7 separate regions of the Homo sapiens genome follow, and all the other regions are linked to region 6. The links are contacts of gene promoters, found by promoter capture Hi-C in blood cells and fetal thymus (Javierre and others, 2016). All regions are on one chromosome and are shown on one strand. The core of a region is centred on a gene start or on the middle of the fragment in contact, and the rest is flanking DNA. Distances in the headings are between cores, read along the strand shown. Region 1 has its middle 33 kb from the start of LINC02351. Region 2 overlaps MEF2A (myocyte enhancer factor 2A). Region 3 has its middle 75 kb from the start of LINC02351. Region 4 overlaps LYSMD4 (LysM domain containing 4). Region 5 has its middle 15 kb from the start of LINC02351. Region 6 holds the start of SYNM (synemin). Region 7 has its middle 33 kb from the start of LYSMD4.

Region 1 (2,886 bases), core at 95-2,594, 650 kb after region 6:
TGCAGGACTGGAAGTTTCTCTGGGTGATTCAGGGAGTGAGTGAGTGGTGAGTGAATGTGAAGGCCTAGGACAGTACTGTGCACTACTGTGCACTTTAGAAACACTGTACACGTAGGTTACACTAAATGTCTACTTTTTCCTTCAATAATAAATGAACTGTAGCTTACTGTAACCTTTTTACTTTACAAAAACTTTTTGATTTTTTTAACTTTTTGACTCTTTTGTAATAACACTTGGCTAAAACATAAATACATTATGCAGCTGCACATAAATATTTTCTTATTCTATAAGCTTTAATTAAAAAAAATTTTTTTTTAAGTTTAAAAATATTTCTTGCTGAAAGCAAAGAGACAAACACACTCCTTAGCCTAGGCCTACTCAGGGTGAGGATTGTCAATATCACTGTCTTCCACTTCCACATCTTGTCCCACTGGAAGGTCTCCAGGGGCAGTAACATGCGTGGAGCTATCATTTCCTAGGATAACTGCCTTCTTCTGGAATACCTCCTAGAGGACCTGCCTGAGGCTGCTTTACAGTTAATTTTGTTTTTATAATGAGTAGAAGGTGTACGCTCTAAAATGACAATACAAATATAGTATAGTAAATACATAAACCAGTATCAGTCATTTATTATCATTATTGGGTATTAGGTACTGTGCATAATTGTATGTGCTAGACTTTTTTTTTTTTTTTGGCAGAGGCTTGTTCTCTTGCCCAGGCTGGAGTGCAGTGGTGCAATCTCGGCTCACTGCAATCTCTGCCCCCTGGGTTCAAGCAATTCTCCTGCCTCAGCCTCCTGAGTAGCTGGGATTACAGGTGCATGCCACCACACCTGGCTAATTTTTTTTATATTTTTGGTAGAGATGGGGTTTCACTATGTTAGCCAGGCTGGTCTCAAACTCCTGACCTCAAGTGATCCTCCCACCTCGGCTTCCCAAAGTGCTGGGATTACAGGCATGAGCCACCATGCCCGCCTGTATGTGCTAGACTTTTATATGACTGGCAGTGTGGTAGGTGTGTTTACCCCAGCATCACCACAAACACATGAATAGCGTGTTGCATTACGACTTTATGATGCCTATGACTATCACTAGGCGACAGGAATTTTTCAGCTGTATTTTAATCTTATGGGATCTCCATTGCACATGTGGTCCATTGTTGACTGAAACGTCTTTATGAAGCACATTACTGTAGTTGGAATCCAATGGAATGTCATTGTTCAGTTAGCTTCTTTCACTTAGTAATATGCCCTTATGGTTTTTCTATATCTTTTTATAGTAATAACTCATTTCTTTTTAGTGCAGAATAATGTTACATTGACTGGATAAGCCACAGTTTATCCACTCACCGTCCGAAGTACATCCTGATTGCTTCTAAGTTCTAGTAATTATGAATAAATATTTGTGTGCAGATTTTTGTGTGAACATCGTTTTCAACTCCGTTGAGTAAATATCAAGGAGTGTGACTGCTGAATCACAAGGTAAGAGTATGTTTAGTTCTGTAAGAAACTGCCAAAATGCCTTCCAAAGTGGCTGCACCATTTTGTATTCTGACAAGCAATGAATGACAGTTCCTGTTGTTCCACATCCTCACCAGCATTTGTTGTTGTCTGTGTTAAAGAATTTGGCTATTCTAGGCCAGGTGTGGTGGCTCACACCTGTAATCCCAGCACTTTGGGAGGCCGAGGCAGGCGGATCACCTGAGGTCAGGAGTTCGAGACCAGCCTGACCAACATGGCGAAACCCTGTCTTTACTAAAAATACAAAAATTAGTTGGGCATGGTGGCACATGCCTGTAATCCCAGCTACTTGGGAGGCTGAGGCAGGAGAATCGCTTGAACCCAGGAGGCGGAGGTTGCAGTGAGCTGAGATCGCGCCATTGCATTCCAGCCTGGGCAATAAGAGCGAAACTCTGTCTCAAAAAAAAAATAATTTGGCTATTCTAATAGGTGTGTAGTGGCATCTCATTGTTTAAATTTGTGATTTCCTAATAGCATATGATGTGGAGCATCCTTTCATATGCTTAGTTGTAGAATTACAAAGAGGATTTTGATAGAGCCAGCATTGAGTTTACAGATCATTTTGGGAAGAATTATTGTAAGAATTGAGTCATCCAATCCATGCACATGGAATTTCTCTTCATTTATTTAGCTCTTCTTTAATTTCTCTCAACAATGTCTTGTAGTTTTTGGTGTTCAAGATTCTTTTGTTAAACATACTCTTAATTATTTACTTCTTTTTAATGCTATTGTAAATTAAATTGCATCTTTATTTAATATTAAAGCCTTTTAGTTTTGGAAGACTTCACAATTACAAGAACATTGCTCTCATCTTCTATATATTGAAATAATATAATTGCAAGCAAGTTGGTACTGTCATCTCAAGCGCATCAAGCTTGAAATCCCAAATATTTTATAGTTACTGTCTCAAGAGAAATGAACTTCCTTATTGGCTGTAGATTATTTATTTTTAAATTCATTTTTGGTATGAAATAGTAACTGCTTATTTAGCTAACAATTCTTTTGCTTGGCATTTTAGGCTGAGCTCAGCTGGGTGATTTTCTAGTCTAGCTGGGCTTGCTGTTTATCCATGGTAACCTGCCTGTCAGGTGGCTCTGCTGCTTGGGGCTGGCGAGACATTCCCTGGGACCGCAGCAGTGCGTGGGCCATATTCCTTTCATGGTAGCAGGTCACCCTGGGCTTGCTTTTGTGGTGTGTTGCAGGGATCTGAGAGAGAACACAGGTACACTGGACCCCAGGAGGCCTAGGCTTAGAGTGGTGGTGCTGTCACTCTGCCTCATTCTGTTGACCAAAGTGAGTCACAAGGCCAGCTGGAATTAGAGGTGAGGGGAAATTGATCCCATCTCTTGATGGGAGGAGCTTCAAAA
Region 2 (2,882 bases), core at 366-2,865, 600 kb before region 6:
ATTATAAATAGAAAAACTAGAGTCTGTAGTACCAGTAGATTGCTTTATTCAAAGTGTTTGAATAGTGTTTAAAAAAATTTGTGTAACAAAGGGAACATTGGTTAGATAACAACACGTAAGAGAATTAGTACTTTCTACATCTTTTTCAACTTCCTTCAAGCAGAAACCCACACTCACCAACTCCAATTCCTCTTCCTCCGACTGTACTCAGCACATAAGAGGGATAAGAGAGTTACTAAGACTGTTGGTACTCACAAACAAAATATTTCTTTAGAAAAAACATATTTGGACACTAGCAGCTGTCTGGAACTCTAAAGAGACGATTATATACACAACAGATAGAAATATAAATTACTTGTCTCTACTTGTTGAGTTTTCAAAAGACTAGAAAAATTATTTTAAATTCTCTAGGGCCAGTATTCAAAGACACCCTCCTACCCCAACTTGGTCTGCTCTCATGCTGGCCTCTTATACATAGTCATGCTACTGCAACAGTATTTAAAAGGGGTTCCTCATCATGCTATCGATCTGTATTTGGAACTGTGAGAATATCAACTCTGTACTTGTAACTCTGTATCTTAATCACCCTACTATTACCCCACCTGGTGATACATGTTATCTATCTCCTACTGAATTCTGCTTCTTGGCAGAAAGAAACTGCTGTATGTTTTATTTCCCGCAGGAGCTAGCAGTTATAAAACAACAGGAACACAAACATTTGTTAATAAATACATGAGTTTTAAATACCAGTTTTATATATGTTTATCATTTGCAAATATATTTTCATGTGAATAAAATGACTTCAATGGAGAAAAACCACATATTTGAAGAAAATGAGACTGAAGGAGAAATGAATTCATAAGTCATGTAAAGAAAAGAAATAAGGCTGGGCACGGTGGCTCACGTCAGGAGTTCAAGACCAGCCTGGCCAAGATGGTGAAACCTTGTCTCTACTAAAACTACAAAAATTAGCCAGGTGCGGTGGCAGGTGCCTATAATCCCAGCTACTCAGGAGACTGAGGCAGGAGAATTGCTTGAACCCGGGCGGCAGAGGTTACAGTGAGCTGAGATCACGCCACTGCACTCCAGCCTGGGTGACAGAGTGAGACTCCGTCCAAAAAAAAAAAAAAAAAGAAACATTTTTGCTCCTTTTCTCCATAACATTTAGAAAATATTAACATGCTAGAAACAGTCTAATCAGTTTTTACTTGTTTTACTTGAGTAAGTTAAGCTTCTCTGTCAGTCTGTGAAAAGTGTCATTGTAAGTGCCACTGATACATGAAGCCCTAATCTGGAAGAAGGTTTCTCTGTAAATGGTGTGTGTAAAGTAGGTGGGACCGATTACTTACTCTGAAAAACAATCACTTGATCTACAACTGCTATCTCCAATGTGGGCAAGATGCTATTCAACTGTTTTGTTATAGATATCTTTACATATCTCCAAACACAAGGTACACACCAAAATATACTGTCTAACATTATAGCTGTGTATGTGTAAAACATATGGTTTTCACTTTAATATACAGGAATAAGCGTGTAAATAGTTCATACGACACATTTTGAGTTTTCCATGGAGATCCTTCATGCTCTCCTAACAATCAGACATAACTTTATTAAGCAATTGCTAAAATGCTTAAATGGAGTTTGTCTCTAAATTGGCAGTTTACTAACAATTCTTGTAAACATTTCTGTACCCTACATGACATTTTGTAGAGTTTATTTCTGAAAGACAGTAGCAAGTATTGCATATCCAGTACCTGAAAGGTGAGCTATGGGACCATCCTAAATGCCATTTTTTCTTGGCTCCCTTTTGGGGTGTATTTCTTTGTTATGTATGTATGTATATATTTTAAACTATTTATTCTGAAATAATTTTAGACAGCATTTACAAAGAGAGCTCCCTCACATCTCACTCAGCTTTCCACATTGTTAACATCACAAGGAAATACAATGCAGTTGTCGAAACTAATAAAAATAATACAGCACCAATTAAAGCTTTGGACTTTACTTGGATTTCACCAGTCTTTCAACTGATGTCCTTTTTCCTGACCCAGGATCAGATCCTGGATCCCACAAGCCTTTAGTTCTCACATCTCCTTCGTCTCCTCTGCTCTGTGACAGTTCCTCAGTCTTTCCTTTTCATGACCTTGACAACTTGTTTTGCATGACCTTGACAACTTGTTTTGAAAGAGTGCTGATCAGTTATCTTATAGAATGTCTCTCAATTTGGGTCTGATTTTCATTCATAATCAGATAGAAGGGCATGGATTTTTGCAAGAATACCACAAAGAGACATGGCTTTCTTAGCATGTCATATTGGAAGGCACATGTTGTCTTTATGTCCCATTACTGGTGATGTTAACCTTGATCCTCCGGTTAAGGCAGTGTTTTCCAGGATTCTCTTATTTCTAATTCTCTAATTTTTCCCTTTGTAAGAAATGAATATTGGGGAAGAGACATTCTGAGACAAAGCAAAATAGCTTTTTACTTAAACTTTTTGCCCACTTATGTTAGCATTTATCCACTGACTTTGCCTGCAACAATTACCATTGTACTGTGGTGTTCTAATGCTGATTTACTCTCTCTCATTCTTTCTACATTTATTAATTAGTTATTTTCTAAGGAAGAGTTGTCCCTTTTTCCCCTTATTTATTCTATCATTTATTTATATCAGTAATGGACTCAATGTTTTTTATTCCCTGGGCTATAATCCAATACTATTGTTATTTTGTTACTCAAATTGTTCTAGTTTTGGCCACTGGAAACTCTTTTGAAAGGCCAGCTCCCGTGACTTTTGATACGCACTTTCTTAACCTCTGACAACCCCGGCTCATCCCGTTTCCCTGCCCCAGCTCTACAACAAACCATTTTTTTCCAAGCAG
Region 3 (2,926 bases), core at 122-2,621, 610 kb after region 6:
GAAAAGCAAGAACAAAACAAACTCAAAATAAGTAGGAGAAAAGAAATAATAAAGAGTAGAGCAGAAATAAAATAAATTGAGACTAAATAAAATACAAAAGATCAACAAATAAAAGTTAGTTTTTTTTTTAACAGATAAGATAAAAAGGCCGGATGCGGTGGCTCACGCCTGTAATCCCAGCACTTTGGGAGGCCGAGACGGGCGGATCACGAGGTTAGGAGATCGAGACCATCCTGGATAACACGGTGAAACCCCATCTCTACTAAAAATACAAAAAAATTAGCCGGGCGCGGTGGCGGGCGCCTGTGGTCCCAGTTACTCGGGAGCCTGAGGCAGGAGAATGGCGTGAACCCGGGAGGCGGAGCTTGCAGTGAGCCGAGATCGCGCCACTGCACTCCAGCCTGGGCGACAGAGCAAGACTCCGTCTCATAAAAAAAAAAAAAAAAAAAAAAAAAAAAAACCAAGAAAAAAATATCCAAATAAATAAAATCAGAAATGAAAAGGGACAATTACAACTGATACCACAGAAATACACGGGATCATTAGAGAATATTACAAACAACTTTACAACAAATTTGAAAAGCTAGCAGCAATATATGTATATTTCTGGACACATAGAACCTACCAAGATTGAACCAAATAAGAAAGAGAAAACTTAAAGAGACCTATCAAGGTTATTGTTGATAGGTGAGTAATGAGATTGAATCAGTAATAAAAAGTCTCTCATCAAAGAAGAGCCCAGGATCTGATGGCTTCACTGTTGAATTCTACCAAACATTTCAGGAATAACTAATACAAATTCTTCTCAAACTCTTTCAGAAAATTAAAGAGGAGGAAATTTTTCCAAACTCATTCTATGAGATCAGAATTACCCTGATATCATAACTAGTCAAAGACACAACAACAACAACAAAAAAGGGAAACTATAGGCCAATATCCTTGATGAACATAATTGTACATGTTCTCAACAAAATACTAGCAAACCAATTCAACAATGCATTAAATTGTTGTTCACCATGATCGAGTAGGATTCATCTCCCGGATGCAAAGATGGTTCAACATATGCAAATCAATAAATGTGATACATCAGTGGAATCAAGGATAAAAACCATATTAGCACCTCAAAAGACACAGAAAAAGTATTGGACAAAATTCAACATTGTCTCATGATAAAGCTCACAAGTTAGGTATAATAGGAACCTACCTCAACACAATAAAGCCCATATATGACACACCCCTAACCAACATCATACCAAATGTGGAAAATTTGAAAGCTTTACCTCTAAGATCTGGAGTAAGATAAAGATGCCTTCTTTTAACACTTTTATTTAACATGGTACTAGAAGACCTAGCTATAGCAACTATTCAAAAGAGAGAAAGAAGGGTCATCTAAGTTGGAAAGGAGGAAGTCAAATTGTCCCTGTTTGCAGATGGCATGATCTTATATATAGAAAACCATGAAAGCTTCACCAAAAAAGCTTTTAGAACTGATAAACCAATTCAGTGAAGTTGCAGGATACAAAAATCAACATAAAAATCAGTAGTATTTCAATACATCCATGACAAACTTGTGGAAAAAGAAATCGAGAAAGGAAATCCATTTACAGTAGACACACACACACATACAGAGACACACAGAAACTAGGAATAAATTTAACCAAGGAGGTCAAAGAGCTCCACAAGGGAAAACATAAAATACTGATGAAAAAATTGAAGAGGATACACAAAAAATAGACATTCCATGTGCATGGGTTGGATAAATTAATATTGTGAAAATGACCATACTACCAAAAGCAATCTATAGATTCAGTGTACTCTTTATCAAAATACCAATGGCATTCTTCACAGAAATAGAAAAAAATTCTAAAATTGATTTGGAACTACTAATGACTTCGAATAGCCAAAGCAATACTGAGCAAAAAGAACAAAGCTGGAGGCATCAAACTACTGGACTTCAATATATTCTACAAAGGTGTAGTAACCCAAACAACATGGTACTGTCATAAAAGCAGACATGTAGACCAATGCAACAGAATAGAGAACCCAGAAATAAACCGATATACTTACAGACAGTTGATTTTTGAAAAATGTACCAAGAACATTCATTGGGGGAAAGGACAGTCTCTTTAGTAAATGGTGCTCAGACAACTGGATATTTATAAGCAGAAGAATGAAACTAGTCCCCCTATTTGTCACCATATACAAAATTCAACTCAAAATAGATTAAAGACTTAAATGTAAGACCTGGAACTATGAAACTATTAATAGTAGAAGACAGCACAGAGGAAATGCTTCAGGACATTGCTCTGAGCAGATATTTTATGGAGAAGATCTCAAAAGCACAGGAAACAAAATCAAAATAAGGCAAGTGAGATTATACTGAACTAAAAATCTTCTGCACAGAAAAATAAACAACAGAATGAAGAGACAACTTGCAGAATCAAATAAAATATTTGGAAACTATTCATCCGACAAGAGATTAGCATCCAGAATATACAAGGGGCTCAAATAATTCAACAGCAAAAAAAAAAAAAAAAAAAAAAAAACAAATAATCCGATTAAAAAATGGGCAAATGAGCTGAATACAAATCTCTTAAAAGAAGACATACAAATGGCCAATAGATATATGAAAAAATGCTCAACACGACAAATCATCAGTGAAATGCAAATCAAAGCCACAGTAAGCTATCACCTCACCCCAGTTAGAACAGCTATTATGAAAAAGACAAAAAATAACATATGCTATGAGGTTGTGGAGAAAGGGGAATGTTTGTATGCTGTTGATGAGAATGTAAAGTAGTACAGCCATTATGGAGAACAGTATGGGGGCTCCTCAAAAATCTAAAAATAGAACTACTATATGGTCCAGCAATCCCACTTCTGAGTATATATCCAAAGGAAATAAAATCAGTATGTTGAAGAAATA
Region 4 (3,116 bases), core at 617-3,116, 630 kb before region 6:
TGGGGATGTAATGAATGCAAAGTGACCCGTGAGCAAACTGGACGCTTTTCTCCGGCTGACAGGCATGAGTTCTCCCCGTAGCTTGCCCCACATACTGTGAGTTAAACTGTGTCAAAGTAAGAGCAGTTTAGCCCCACAGTTCTGAGCAAGAGTCCTTAGCGCTGACCTTCTTAGTGAAGATACTTTGCAATGTGTAAAATATTGAATACAAAATTATTGTGCAAAGCTTCTGAGTTGAAGATTCTGAGTGCGCGGAGGCTGGCGGCAGCCCTTACTTGCCATTGCAAGGATCTCAACTTACTACTCTGAGAGCAAAAGTAGTTGTTTCTTTACAGATGTGGGTTTAGGGGAGACAGCTATGGATGAGGAACAGGGGCGGGGTTCGTTTTCTGCACAAAACGTATGCGATTAGAAAAAACAAAGGGTTTTTATTCTGCCTATCTTCTTCCATCTCAGCCAGCATAAGCACATTCTTTTTTTTCTGTTGATGATGTATGCTGAGTATTTGCAGCGATTAGGAAAAGGAATACTCTCTAACAAGACACTTCTCTTTAAACGAGGCGGTGGAGGGATGATTATGTCTTCTGTGGAATTAACCCTCCGGCTTGATTTTCAGTGAAGAAAATGAGGCACGAGGAATTGTTAACCAAGACCTTCCAAGGCCCAGCTGTTGTGTGTGGGACTCCGACCAGCCACGTATACATGTTTAAGAATGGCAGTGGGGACTCGGGGGACTCTTCTGAAGAAGAGTCTCACCGTGTGGTTTTGCGGCCCCGGGGCAAGGAGCGCCACAAGAGCGGTGTCCACCAGCCTCCCCAGGCGGGAGCAGGTGACGTGGTGCTGCTGCAGCGGGAGCTGGCCCAGGAGGACAGCCTCAACAAGCTGGCGCTGCAGTATGGCTGCAAAGTAAGACACCCCTCAGGGGCCCTGCCCCGCTCCGTTTCAAGGAACACGGGGAACTCACTGCAGGGTGGGTGCCCTTGCCGCCCTTCTTAACCCTGCCAGGCCGTCAGGAGAGGCCTGCTGTAGCAGCCAAGGACTCCCCTATTTAGCCAGAATTGGAATGCAGGTGGGAGTACCTTTAGTTCCCAACCCTGGCCCCCAAAGAGGGAGGGTTAGCGCATTTCTTTCTCTGCAGGGAACTTCTCCTTTTCCTGTTTTCTCCACACTGAAATTCTGAAACCTTTTTTCTTCTTTCGAGCACATTTTATTTTAGACCTAATGGGGCTGGAGATACCAGGCAGAATTTAATTCCGGATTTCTATGGTATGCTTGCTTTTCTCGCTGCTCTTATTTTTCTGAACCTTTCTTGGTGGTAGCTTACTTGACTTTTGGTAAAGTTTTACCTTCTCTCGTTTAGAACTGCATGGTCTTTTGTATGCTGTGTATCTATATAACCCTGTTTTTCTCTAATTATGTTTTCAGCATTCAGAGTGATTAACAATGGCAAAGTAAGTAGGAAAGTATTTCTAGAATTGCTGCATTTTCTCCTAGATTGCAACTGTTTCACTTTGCTAACACTGTGCTACAGATTTGTATGGCCTTCTCTAGGGGTATATAAGCTACTTAATTTAAGAAATCTCTTTCTCCTACAAGTGTCTTATCTAACAAGGTCCAAATGTCTGAAACATGTTGTGTGGGGTGTTGCGGTCTTTCAGGGAAATAAACAGGTTGGTCTCCGGGGACACATAGTGGTCTTTAAATTGTACTGACAATTATATTTGGCTCCGATAAGCAGCTTCTGCAGGCATACTGTGTGGCTTACAGAACATGGGCTGAAAAATGAAGCCTGTCCTACAAAGACCGGAATAGATGGAGTAGGCTTCTTGGTATGGTGATGTCTAAATCCGTAAAGAATATATAAAGCCTTTGATAAGTGATCAGTTTTCCTATTTGAAGTAAATAAATTTGCTCTTAATTTATTGAAGGCAGAGACAGAAAGATCTCAAGGGTCTCATGCATTAGATTCAGGACATAGTGAATTAAAAATGTCCCCTACCCCAAATCAGTTACAATAACAGCAGTTGCTGAATAATAATGGAAATGATTGATTTGATTGAGATCTGTTGGCTGTATTCACTTTCTAGTTTAAGTGGACTTAAGTGTTAAAAGTTTGGAGTTCATCTCTGATGCTTTTGGAAAGTTTTCAAACATTAGTTTGAGGGAGGGGTTACCCTTTGACTTACATTCTCCCTGCTTCTTAAATCTTCGTGTTTGATTATGAGAGGAGTTTGTCATGAACTTTGTTACTTGATAAAACTCACAGCATTATTCCTTTTTCCTGACAGTTAAGTACAGTAACTGTAAGTCACTTTTATTTAATAAGTTTACATGCCCCACAGTGTTTCTGGGAAAGAAAATGCCGAGGGCATATCTGTCAACTTTATTACAGGTAAACTGGATTTTGAGTGTGTCTGCAGAGCTGGCTGAGGCTGTGTGTTTGGTGAATGCTAACATCTGGCAGCCACTGAGTTCTGGCATGAGGGGGAAGGCAGGCAGATGGGGGCACTATTGCCTCAAAAGTGAAAGGTGGAAAAGGCTGCAACATTCCTTTCAGTGCCATGGTGGTTTCGCCCAAAGCGATTTGTTGCAGTCACACTTTAAACAGTTTAAGAAAGATCTGTTTTTCAAAACTGATCTTAAATTGTTCAAACCTGTAAATCTTTAGGAATATCTGATTACTAAACTATATATTGAGGTTGAGTGAAAGCCAAAAAAACAAAATTTCAGCCTAAACTAACTTTGTGTACAGCTGCAGTTTTCCAGTCTTCATCAGATTCGTCAGTGAAGTGGGCTTGAATCATCACCCAGAAAGATTAAGAGCCACTTTTTGGAAAGTTATTTTTAAGGAGCTCCGCATATTTTATGATGTTTATCTTCGTGCCTTCCTAGGTTGCAGATATCAAGAAAGTCAACAACTTCATCAGAGAACAAGACTTATATGCTTTGAAATCTGTTAAGATTCCAGTGAGAAACCATGGGATCCTGATGGAGACCCACAAAGAACTGAAACCCCTTCTGAGCCCGTCTTCCGAGACCACAGTGACCGTGGAACTGCCAGAGGCAGACAGAGCAGGCGCGGGCACCGGTGCCCAGGCCGGCCAACTGATGGGCTT
Region 5 (3,137 bases), core at 19-2,518, 670 kb after region 6:
CATCCTCCATCCATCTTCCATCCATCCATCCTCCATCCATCCATCTATCCATCCATCCACCCATCCATCCATCCATCCACCCATCCATCATCCATCCATCCATCCTCCATCTTCCATCCATCCATCCATCCATCCATCCTTCATCCAGCCATCCATCTATCCATACATTTATCATCCATCCATCCATCATCCATCCGTCCATCCTCCATCCATCCATTCATCCTCTATCCATCCATCATCCATCCATCCATCCATCCACCCATCCTCCATCCATCCATCCATCCTCCATCCGTCATCCATCCGTCCATCCATCCATCCATCCATTCTGTTGTACAACAGATATTCAGCATGCTTTCTCAGGGACATGCTCTGTGCTGGGGACAGGGGATATAAGTGAGGTATGGATACTGGCCTCAGGAAACTCTCTTCTCTTTGGAGGAATCTCTTCTGGAGTGTTCCACTGGAGTTTTCATCTCTCTTGCACCCATTACAAAGATGGAAGGGTCCAATTGACTAGAAATATAGTTTAGAGATTCATATGGAGACATCATGAAGCCTGCCTCCCCCCTGCCCCTTATACTTGGGCTCTCTGTGCAGGTGGCACAGACCATAAAAGGAGAGTGAAGTCTACAGCCTAGAGGGTGCCCTGTGTGTGGTGTCAGATGTAACCTTTCACATGGGATGTGTGTGCTGTGAGCATTGTGCTATTTGAGATGAATGGTTAGTATTTTGTGTTTACATGAAAATAAATGTTTAAAAATGTCTCAGGGGTTTGATGAAGTTACTATTCAATAAAAGAAACCTCTCAGGGAAGAACAGCTGATGTATTGATGGCTTTGTTTAAGGGCATATGTACTGACCACACAAGTTAGAAGGCAATGCCGTGGAACTGAGAGCAACCTCCTGCCCAGTCCATGCCAGCTGTGAGGCCGTGTGCAGGGGTCCCTTCCAGCAGTGTGTGCAGGACTGCCCATAATGCACATCTTTGTGTGTGTTGTGTTGTTTTTATTAAATCAATTTTATTTTTCGGTTTTCTGTGTTCCTGTCTCTTATTTTTTAACAGCTGTATTGAGATATTATTTACAAACCTTAAAGTTCCCTCATTTAAAGTAATAATTCAGGCCCGGCGAGGTGGCTTACACCTGTAATCCCAGCAATTTGGGAGGAAGAGGCATGTGGATAACTTGAGCTCAGGAGTTCAAGACCAGCCTGGCCAACGTGGTGAAACTCTGACTCTACAAAAATACAAAAATCAGCCGGGTGTGGTGGCCTGCGCCTATAGTCCCAGCTACTTGGGAGGCTGAGGTGGGAGGATTGCTTGAGCCCGGGAGGTTGAGGCTGCATCGAGTGGAGATCGTGCCATTGCACTACAGCCTGGGTGATAGAGTGAGACCTTGTCTCAAAAAAAAAAAAAGTAATAATGCAATGATTTTTAGTATATTTACAGAGCTGTGCCCTCATCACCACCATTAGTGCCCCAAAATGAAATACTGCGCCCATGAGTCTCTCACTCCCCACTTACCCCCTCCTCCTGCCCTCGGCAGCCACTAATCTATATATAAATTTGCCTCTTCCGGGTATGTCATGTAAGTGGAATCACACAATACGGGGTCTTTCACAGCTGGCATCTTTCACGTAGCATAATTTTTCCAAGGTTCATCCGTGTTGTGGTGCGTGTCATCAGTTCTTACTCCTTCTTATTGCCAAATAACGTCCCGTGGTATGGATGTAGAACACTGTATTTTGGCATTCGCTAGGTGATGTAATTTGGATTGATTTGAGGTTTTGGTAGTTATCAATGATGCTGCCATGAATATACACATACACAAATACAAGTTTATGGCCGGGCGCGGTGGCTCACGCCTGTAATCCCAGCACTTTGGGAGGCCAAGGCGGGTGGATCACGAGGTCAGGAGATCGAGACCATCCCGGCTAACACGGTGAAACCCCGTCTCTACTAAAAATACAAAAAAATTAGCCGGGCGTGCTGGCGGGCACCTGCAGTCCCAGCTACTCGGGAGGCTGAGGCAGGAGAATGGCATGAACCCGGGAGGTGGAGCTTGCAGTGAGCCGAGATCGTGCCACTGCACTCCAGCCTGGGCGACAGAGCAACACGCCGTCTCAAAAAAAAAAAAAAAAACAAAATACAAGTTTGTGTGTGTACATATGTTTTCAGTTCTCTTGGGTACACATCTGAGAGTGGAATTTCTGGGTCATATGGTAACTCTATGTTTAACATTTTGGGGAACTGCCAAATTATTTTTCCAAGTCCCTGCACCATTTTACATTCTTATCAGCCAGGTATGAGGGTTTCCGCTTCCCTCATCCCAGCCAACACTTATTCCATCTTTTTTTTTTTTTGAAACAAAGTCTCGCTCTTGTCCCCTAGGCTGGAGTGCAATGGCGTGATCTCAGCTCACGGCAACCTCCGCCTCCCAGGTTCAAGCGATTCTCCTGCCTCAGCCTCCCAAGTAGCTGGGATTACAGGCGCCTGACACCATGCCTGGCTAATTTTTTGTATTTTTAGTAAAGATGGGGTTTCACTATGTTAGCCAGGCTGGTCTCGAACTCCTGACCTCGTGATCTACCCACCTCGGTCTCCCAAAGTACTGGGATTACAGGCGTGAGCCACCGCGCCCGGGGCCTATTCCGTCTTTTTGATACAGCCACCATCCTAGTGGGTGGGAAGTGGCATCTTACCGTGGTGCTGATTTGCATTGCCCTGGTGACTACTGATGTCAAACAGCTTTTCAGTCATTTGTGTTATCTTCTTTGGAGAAATGTCTATTCAAATCCTCACTTATTTTTGAATTGCGTTGTTTTTATCTTGTTGATTTGTAAGAATTCTTTATAAATTCTGATTTTAATCCCTTTTTGGATATACGATTTGCAGTTTTTTTCCCCATTCTTTGGTTTCTCGTTTCATTTTATTGATGTCATTTGAAGTACAGTTTTAATTTTGTTTTGTTTTGTTTTGGTTTGGTTTGTTTTTGAGTCAGGGTCTTGCTCTATCGCCCAGGCTGGAGTGCAGTGGGGTGATCTCGGCTCACTTCAACTTCTGCCTCCCGGGCTCAAGCCATCCCCCCCACTACAGCCTCCCCAGTAGCTGGGACTACAGGCGTGCACCTCCATGCCCA
Region 6 (2,897 bases), core at 1-2,500:
AAGGAAAACCTAGAGCTAACAGGGTGGCCTATCAGGATGCGCCCAGTCACGCTTGTCAAGAGTTAAAGCAGCTGCCACCTAACCCCATGACGAGGACGGGGCTATCCGCTAGGACCTGCCGCCCCGCGCTCGCCCGCTGAGTCGATGGACCAGCGGACCGAGTCCGGGTCCCCATGCCATTCGGGCACCCTCTGGGCGGGCCCTACCGGTCCGCGACGCCGCGCCCCTGGTGAAGGGGCCGCTGCCCCACGCCGTCAAGGGCAGGGTGCTGGGGCGACGGCAGCGGGTATGGGGTCAGCGCGCCATCCCCGCGCACGGACCTGCCGCTCCTCGGCCTGTATCCCGTACTCCTCGCGCATCCGCAGCAGCGCGTCCTCCAGCCGCGCGCGCAGCTGCTCCAACCCGAGCGCCTCGCGCCGCAGCGCCTCTGCCTCCTGCGCGCACAGCCGCGTCTCTTCCTCCGCCTGGAGTCTGCTCTCCTGGCCGCGCCGCAGCGCCTCCTCCAGCTCGCGCACCTCGTCCTCGTACAGCTGCACCGTCTCCCGCCACGACTCGGCCACCAGCAGTGCGTAGCTGTCGTGCACCTCCCGCAGGCGTGGCGGCGGCGCGGCGGGGCCGGTGGCGCGGGCGCGGAAATGCATGGTAAGGCTGGCGGCGCGCGCGCGCAGCTCCCTCACGTCGCGTTCGTGGGCCGCGTCGAGGCCTCGGCGCTCGGCCTGCAGCCGGCCCAGCAGCGCCTCGAGGGCGGCGCGCGCGCCCAGCGCCTCCTGCAGCTCGCGCTGCTGCGCACCCAGCTCGGCGTCCAGGCGGCCGCGGGCGGCGCGCTCCTCCGCATCCAGGCGCTGCAGCTCCCGCAGCTCGCGCCGCAGAGCGTCCCGCTCGCCCTCCGCCAGCGCAGTGGCCCAGCTCAGCTCGTCCAGCTGCTGCCGCAAGCTGCGCGCCTCCTCGGCGCAGCGGGCCTGCCCCTCGGCCCACAGGCCCTCTCGCCCGCGCCGGCCGCGCAGCTCCTCCTCCAGGAGTAGGTTTTCGCGCTCCAGCTCCCGCACCCGACACACGTAGTCATAGAGCCGGGCGTTGAGCTCCTGGAGCTCGGCCTTCTCGGGGCCCGTCTGCAGCCGCCAGGACAGCATCTTGCCGGGCGTGCGGGGTTCTCGCGGCTGGCCGGCTCCCTCCTGCCCTGGTCTTGTCCCGGTCTCGTCCTCTCCGCCGCGACGCTCCGGCCTCGCCGCTGCCCCGGAGGCCCGCAGACTGGGACGCGAGCGGGAGAGCCCAGGCACTTAGCGGACGGGGCGGGCAGACTGGGCGGGCGGCCTGGGCGAGGGCCGCGGCCTCCAGCCAATCAGAGCGCGGCCCGGCGCGGCCTCTGCGGCCGCACAGCGCCCCCTGCCGCACCTTGGCGGCCGCAGGTGGTCGGTGCGGGCAGTCGGGTAACAGCGGGCGGGGTGGCGGGCTAGCCAGGCCGGGCTCAGCGAAGGGACGCCGGAGAGGGCGTCCGGGAGCATACGAGTGTCCTGGCCTTGGTGGATGGAAATAGAAGCCTATTGAGTTGCTGTGGTGCTGGCGATTTTGGAGCGACTTCTTACCCGAGGCCCTGGAGATTGGTGGCTTTTCTATTTTTAAAAAAACGATATGGGCCGGGCGCGGTGGCTCAGGCCTATAATCCCAGCATTTTGGGAAGCCGAGGTGGGAGGCTCGCTTGAGCCCAGGAGTTCGAGACCAGCCTGAGCAACATAGAGAGACCCTGTCTCTACCAAAAAAAAAAAAAAAAAAAAAATATATATATATATATATATATATGGAGCCTGGCGTGGTGGTGTCACACGCGCTGCTTGGGAGGCTGAGGCGGGAGGATTACTCGAACCCAGGAGTTCAGGGCTGCAGTGAACCTGATTGTGGCACTGCGCTCCAGCCTGGGCAACAGAGAGAGGCCTCATCTCATATATATACATTACACATACATGTGCATTAATTTTTTTTTTTTTTTTTTTGAGACAGAGTGTCGCTCTTGTTGCCCAGGCTGGAGTGCAATGGCACGATCTCGGCTCACCACAGCCTCCGCCTCCCGGGTTCAAGCGATTCTCCTGCCTCAGCCTCCCGAGTAACCGGGATTACAGGCCAGCGCCACCACGCCTGGCTAATTTTTTTTTTTTTTTTTTTTTTTTTTTTTTGTATTTTTGGTAGAGACGGGGTTTCTCCATGTTGGTCAGGCTGGTCTCGAACTCACGACCTCAGGTGATCCGCCCACCTCGGCCTCCCAAAGTCCTGGGATTACTGGCGTGAGCTACCGTGCCCAGCCTAAATAATCTTTTTAACTTAAAACATAAATATATATCCATTTACCAGTATTTTAATGTGCAAAATACTTCTCTTGATGTCAGTTGACAGGAGTCCCAGTTGCCCTTCTTATACAAGCTACCCTCATAGTACATTACATTTTCCAAAACGAATTTCTTTCATTTGGAGTGAAAACTTAGAGACCATAAAGTGCTCCAAGTACAGAACTTTCTAGACATCTAACATCTCCCCGAACTTTTACAAATCTCACACACACACCCCTAATGTGACAGCTGTTTCTTTCCAGCATTTCCCTAAGAAAGTATTCAGTTTAATTGCCATGGAAACCACAGCTCTTTTTTGTACACTTGCATTTCATTAGTTTTCATGGCAGTTATTTATGAATGACAGTTCTCAGTATAAGTGTCATTAAGGCTCACAGGGACAAACCAGCTGACCCTTGGTTGGGGTGCCCTTGAACTTGTGGCAACACAAGTGCCCAGGGCGAGACCTGGACGGTCATCCACTGGCCAGAGGGCTCCTCATGGCAGGGCCAGCAGTTAGTGTATTTTACAGATGGCATGGAAAGGTGGACTACTCAGCAAGCTGGTCCAGGGCCTCTG
Region 7 (3,244 bases), core at 12-2,511, 660 kb before region 6:
AGGTAAAGCTTTGTGATTCAGACCACATTTGTGGAAAGAGCATTGCTTTCGAGACATGACCTTGGCTGGTTATCCATGGGACTAGCCATAGTGAAGTCCTTCGTTAGTGAAGTAATAGTGTAACATAATATGCACGATCTACTGTATTTTTCAACATACTCAAAGCAATTTTCTCATTTCAGTAAGTTATGCAGCATTTATTTAGCTATGATCATTATATTACTTGCCAAGATAATGTAAATATGAAGAATACCTAACAGGTATTTTAATTAAACATTTTGTAATTTTAAGTCAATAAAAGCAATGTAGGCAGTGGTTGAGCAGGTGGTCTCTGGCTCAACATCCCCTCTCCGCCATTTGCCAAAGAAGTGAACTTGAACAAGTCACTTAAACGCTCGATGCCTTAGTTTCTTCTACGTAAAATGAAATGATCCCAACAGAACCTGTCTCCTGAACATACTGTAAATATCGAATGGTTAACTGTATGATACAGTTAAAAAAATACCTGGCATATAGTAAGCACTATACAAATGTCATTTATTCATTTCCACACATGCTCATAAATAAACTCCTAGATTTCTGTAAAATGTGTAACTGTGCAGTGTTATCACTATTACCAGCCAAGCTTCTCTTCTGTCTCTACAACTGACTTAGTAAAGTTGTCTTCACATTAGAAAGGTTGCCTTACATTATTTTATTATGAAAGAAAGTTTAAAAGAAAGAAGGTTTGGAGTTTTTGTGGTAGGAGAGCAGCTACTTTTATATAGTTCAGTAAATCAATCTGTGCTGCTGAGCGTGAGCCTCAGAGGAGATAAACTTGGGGATGATTAGAAAGGAAAGAAGAATGCACTGGTGAATAACATTATCCAAACTGACTGTTGTGACTGAAGAGATCAACTCATTAGATAAATATCTTCTCTTTCCTGATATCTGTTTCTTTATATGACTATAAACTATCATTTTAGAGACCCACTTTATACAGTAGCTGATGTGTTGCCCAGTTTAAGAAGGCAGTTTTAGCCTCCAATAGGAATTCAGAAATAACTATAATTCTTCACTGTGCCTTCAAAGAACATTTAAAATAAGGTCCAGACGTATAACACAGCAAGAGTTATCAAGATTGGTTCTCACCTCCTCACCAGCTCTCCAGCTCTCAGCAATTCCACAAGCCTCGGAAAATCTCTTATGAATGTCACCCTTACCCTGTGCATTTTTCACCCAGGTACACCACTTCCTTCTTGTGTCATTCCCTCAATAAGTCGGCTCTTGCCAGGAAGTTTGTGTTCTCCTTCCACCATATTCTCTCCACTCTCAGTCCTTTTCGTGCCTGTTCACCTCACACAGGCCCTCCAGCTCTACCACCTACAAGGTTGAATGGTGAAGTGGAAGCCGTTCGTGGGCACTGAGATGGCAAAGAATTATCTTTTGTATCATTTTCTGTAAAAGGGAGGAGGTAGATTCCTGGTTTCTTAATGTCTCTTCAAACTCTGAAATACTCTGTCTGTTAATAACCAGAGAATTTGACCTTCTAAAACACAATGAAGAGGACCCTATGTGGGCTCCTCTTCCTTTCACTTCGTTGTTTCTTCAGTGTGCTGAAATCATCCTTATTTCGTCACAGGTCTGGGGGCTAGATTCCAGTCCAAGGGAATGACATATTTTCAGATAACTATTCTTAGGTTTTATAAAAGTGAGTAAAGTTATCAAAAACAGTAACACACCTTGTTTGTCTTTTATGCCTACAAAATGGCACCGTACATTAAAACCATGGCATTTATACTATGAGTTTAAATATATCTGGGGACTGCTTTTTTTGAGTGAAAACAAAAGATTTTGCTGAACGGTAAACCATCATATTATGTACCCTAGCAGGGTAGCATAACACAAGGGAAGCTTCAAAGCCCAAGATGGTTCACTGATTACCAACTCAATAACACTGTATAATAGCAAGAAGAAAATAAAAGATTTCTAAATACTAAATTCCTCCACTCCAATCTGGTGACGGGCAGGTACCAAGCAATATCATTTATCTATAGCGGTCTTAAATTCTTAAAGACCCGGAATATAGCCAGTAACAGTCATGCAATTATTTGCTTTCTGTTTCTTGCTGTATTTCATCTATAAAGTCTATAAGATCACTTAGCTTTTTGGAATTAATATGTCCATGCAAATGTCTCACGTAAAATAAAATAGGATATCATGATACTAAACAGGGTTTAAAAAAGAGCCCCTCTCCCCAAAAAGCATTTTATGTTAATTGTTCTATCTAAGCTTTTTATCTAATAGTTTTTAAAAGAAACATAATAGATGACTAAATATAAGAAGAGTTCCAAAGGCCATTTTCTATTTGAATCTTTCACATTTATTTAAATGCAGTTTTCTGTTTAATTTTAACTTGCATGAAATACAATTTATGTTGAAAAGGACTTGATCAATGTGTTCTTTCTTAGCTTGTACAAAGAAATTATGAATATATGCTAGACTACCTACACTGTTTACGGCCAGTGTTTTAATAACATATACTGGTCTGTGTTAACAAATATAGAAAAACTAACATTTTATCAAACGACAAAGTAAGATAGAAGATGTATTCTGGGTTCCATTTTAGTGAGTGAAAAACTGATTATTCAATCTGAAGTGGCAAATAGGATTAAGTTATTTTATTAGAAGAATGTTACATTTATCACTGTGTTTAATTGATTGTGGTGATCTGACATAAGTTTTTCTCTGACATCACCGTTTAATTTCAGTTAATTAAAGTATTGTTATTACAGTCTTGCTACATCCTAAGCACTTTCATTCATTTATGCAACATATCGCTTGTGGATCTAGAAATTTAACTCCGAAGAAAACAGTCTGGGGTGGGCTTCGTCATCATCCATCAATTACTCATCAACGTTTCATTATTTCCAACTACTATGCACTTAATTATTTTTTTAAAAAAAAAGAGGAATTAAGATACATCCCAGTTATAGAAAAAAGTCTTGGATTTTTACTGTGCTATTGCCAAGTATATAGAAAGAAATAATTCAAGACGTAAAACATTATTCTATATCTTTAAAATAAAAGCGGTCATCAGATAAAATATGCTTTAAACATGTGAGCCGACATATGCCTTCCAGGGCTAGTAGTTCAAATGATCACTTAGCAAGTAATAATTCCCATTTCTGCAGGTAAATGGAACCCAAAGCAACCAATTTTTCCCTGTGTCAATAGGATTTGCCTGGATCCGTCTGTGAAACAA

What was found. The method cuts DNA at HindIII sites, captures the fragments that hold promoters and counts their contacts. A CHiCAGO score of 5 or more calls a contact.
Region 1: a fragment that was not itself captured here is called in contact with the fragment with the promoter of SYNM in region 6 in 4 of 17 cell types (megakaryocytes, M0 macrophages, erythroblasts and 1 more); the score reaches 6.0 in megakaryocytes.
Region 2: a contact is called between a fragment that was not itself captured here and the fragment with the promoter of SYNM in region 6, in 2 of 17 cell types (naive CD8 T cells and total CD8 T cells). The highest score is 5.3, in naive CD8 T cells.
Region 3: a contact is called between a fragment that was not itself captured here and the fragment with the promoter of SYNM in region 6, in 4 of 17 cell types (naive CD4 T cells, fetal thymus, naive CD8 T cells and 1 more). The highest score is 6.7, in naive CD4 T cells.
Region 4: a contact is called between a fragment that was not itself captured here and the fragment with the promoter of SYNM in region 6, in 1 of 17 cell types (endothelial precursors). The highest score is 5.7, in endothelial precursors.
Region 5: a fragment that was not itself captured here is called in contact with the fragment with the promoter of SYNM in region 6 in 1 of 17 cell types (M2 macrophages); the score reaches 5.5 in M2 macrophages.
Region 7: a fragment that was not itself captured here is called in contact with the fragment with the promoter of SYNM in region 6 in 1 of 17 cell types (neutrophils); the score reaches 6.1 in neutrophils.

The regions. Positions count from the first base shown.
Region 1 is chr15:98,452,980-98,455,865 of GRCh38, reverse strand. It overlaps the pseudogene FAM169BP. Among named protein-coding and RNA genes, the nearest start is that of LINC02351, 33 kb to the right of the region's middle. The HindIII fragment of the contact is 2,102 bases long and covers 294-2,395 here.
Region 2 is chr15:99,700,681-99,703,562 of GRCh38, reverse strand. It overlaps MEF2A (myocyte enhancer factor 2A), which reads right to left. Exons shown (of 12, transcript NM_001319206.4): 9 at 178-201. Among named protein-coding and RNA genes, the nearest start is that of LYSMD4, 31 kb to the left of the region's middle. The HindIII fragment of the contact is 764 bases long and covers 1,234-1,997 here.
Region 3 is chr15:98,494,994-98,497,919 of GRCh38, reverse strand. It overlaps the pseudogene FAM169BP. Among named protein-coding and RNA genes, the nearest start is that of LINC02351, 75 kb to the right of the region's middle. The HindIII fragment of the contact is 190 bases long and covers 1,277-1,466 here.
Region 4 is chr15:99,729,508-99,732,623 of GRCh38, reverse strand. It overlaps LYSMD4 (LysM domain containing 4), which reads left to right. Exons shown (of 3, transcript NM_001284417.2): 2 at 617-906; 3 at 2,893-3,116. The coding sequence starts at 625. Among named protein-coding and RNA genes, the nearest start is that of LYSMD4, 2.4 kb to the left of the region's middle. The HindIII fragment of the contact is 3,276 bases long and covers 229-3,116 here.
Region 5 is chr15:98,434,839-98,437,975 of GRCh38, reverse strand. It overlaps the pseudogene FAM169BP. Among named protein-coding and RNA genes, the nearest start is that of LINC02351, 15 kb to the right of the region's middle. The HindIII fragment of the contact is 5,322 bases long and covers 1-3,137 here.
Region 6 is chr15:99,103,433-99,106,329 of GRCh38, reverse strand. It overlaps SYNM (synemin), which reads right to left and starts at 1,250. Exons shown (of 4, transcript NM_145728.3): 1 at 321-1,250. The coding sequence starts at 1,130. It overlaps SYNM-AS1 (SYNM antisense RNA 1), which reads left to right and starts at 453. Exons shown (of 3, transcript NR_187219.1): 1 at 453-642. RefSeq lists silencers at 141-310, 591-1,500. The HindIII fragment of the contact is 5,074 bases long and covers 1-2,897 here.
Region 7 is chr15:99,765,164-99,768,407 of GRCh38, reverse strand. No RefSeq gene overlaps it. Among named protein-coding and RNA genes, the nearest start is that of LYSMD4, 33 kb to the right of the region's middle. The HindIII fragment of the contact is 1,268 bases long and covers 628-1,895 here.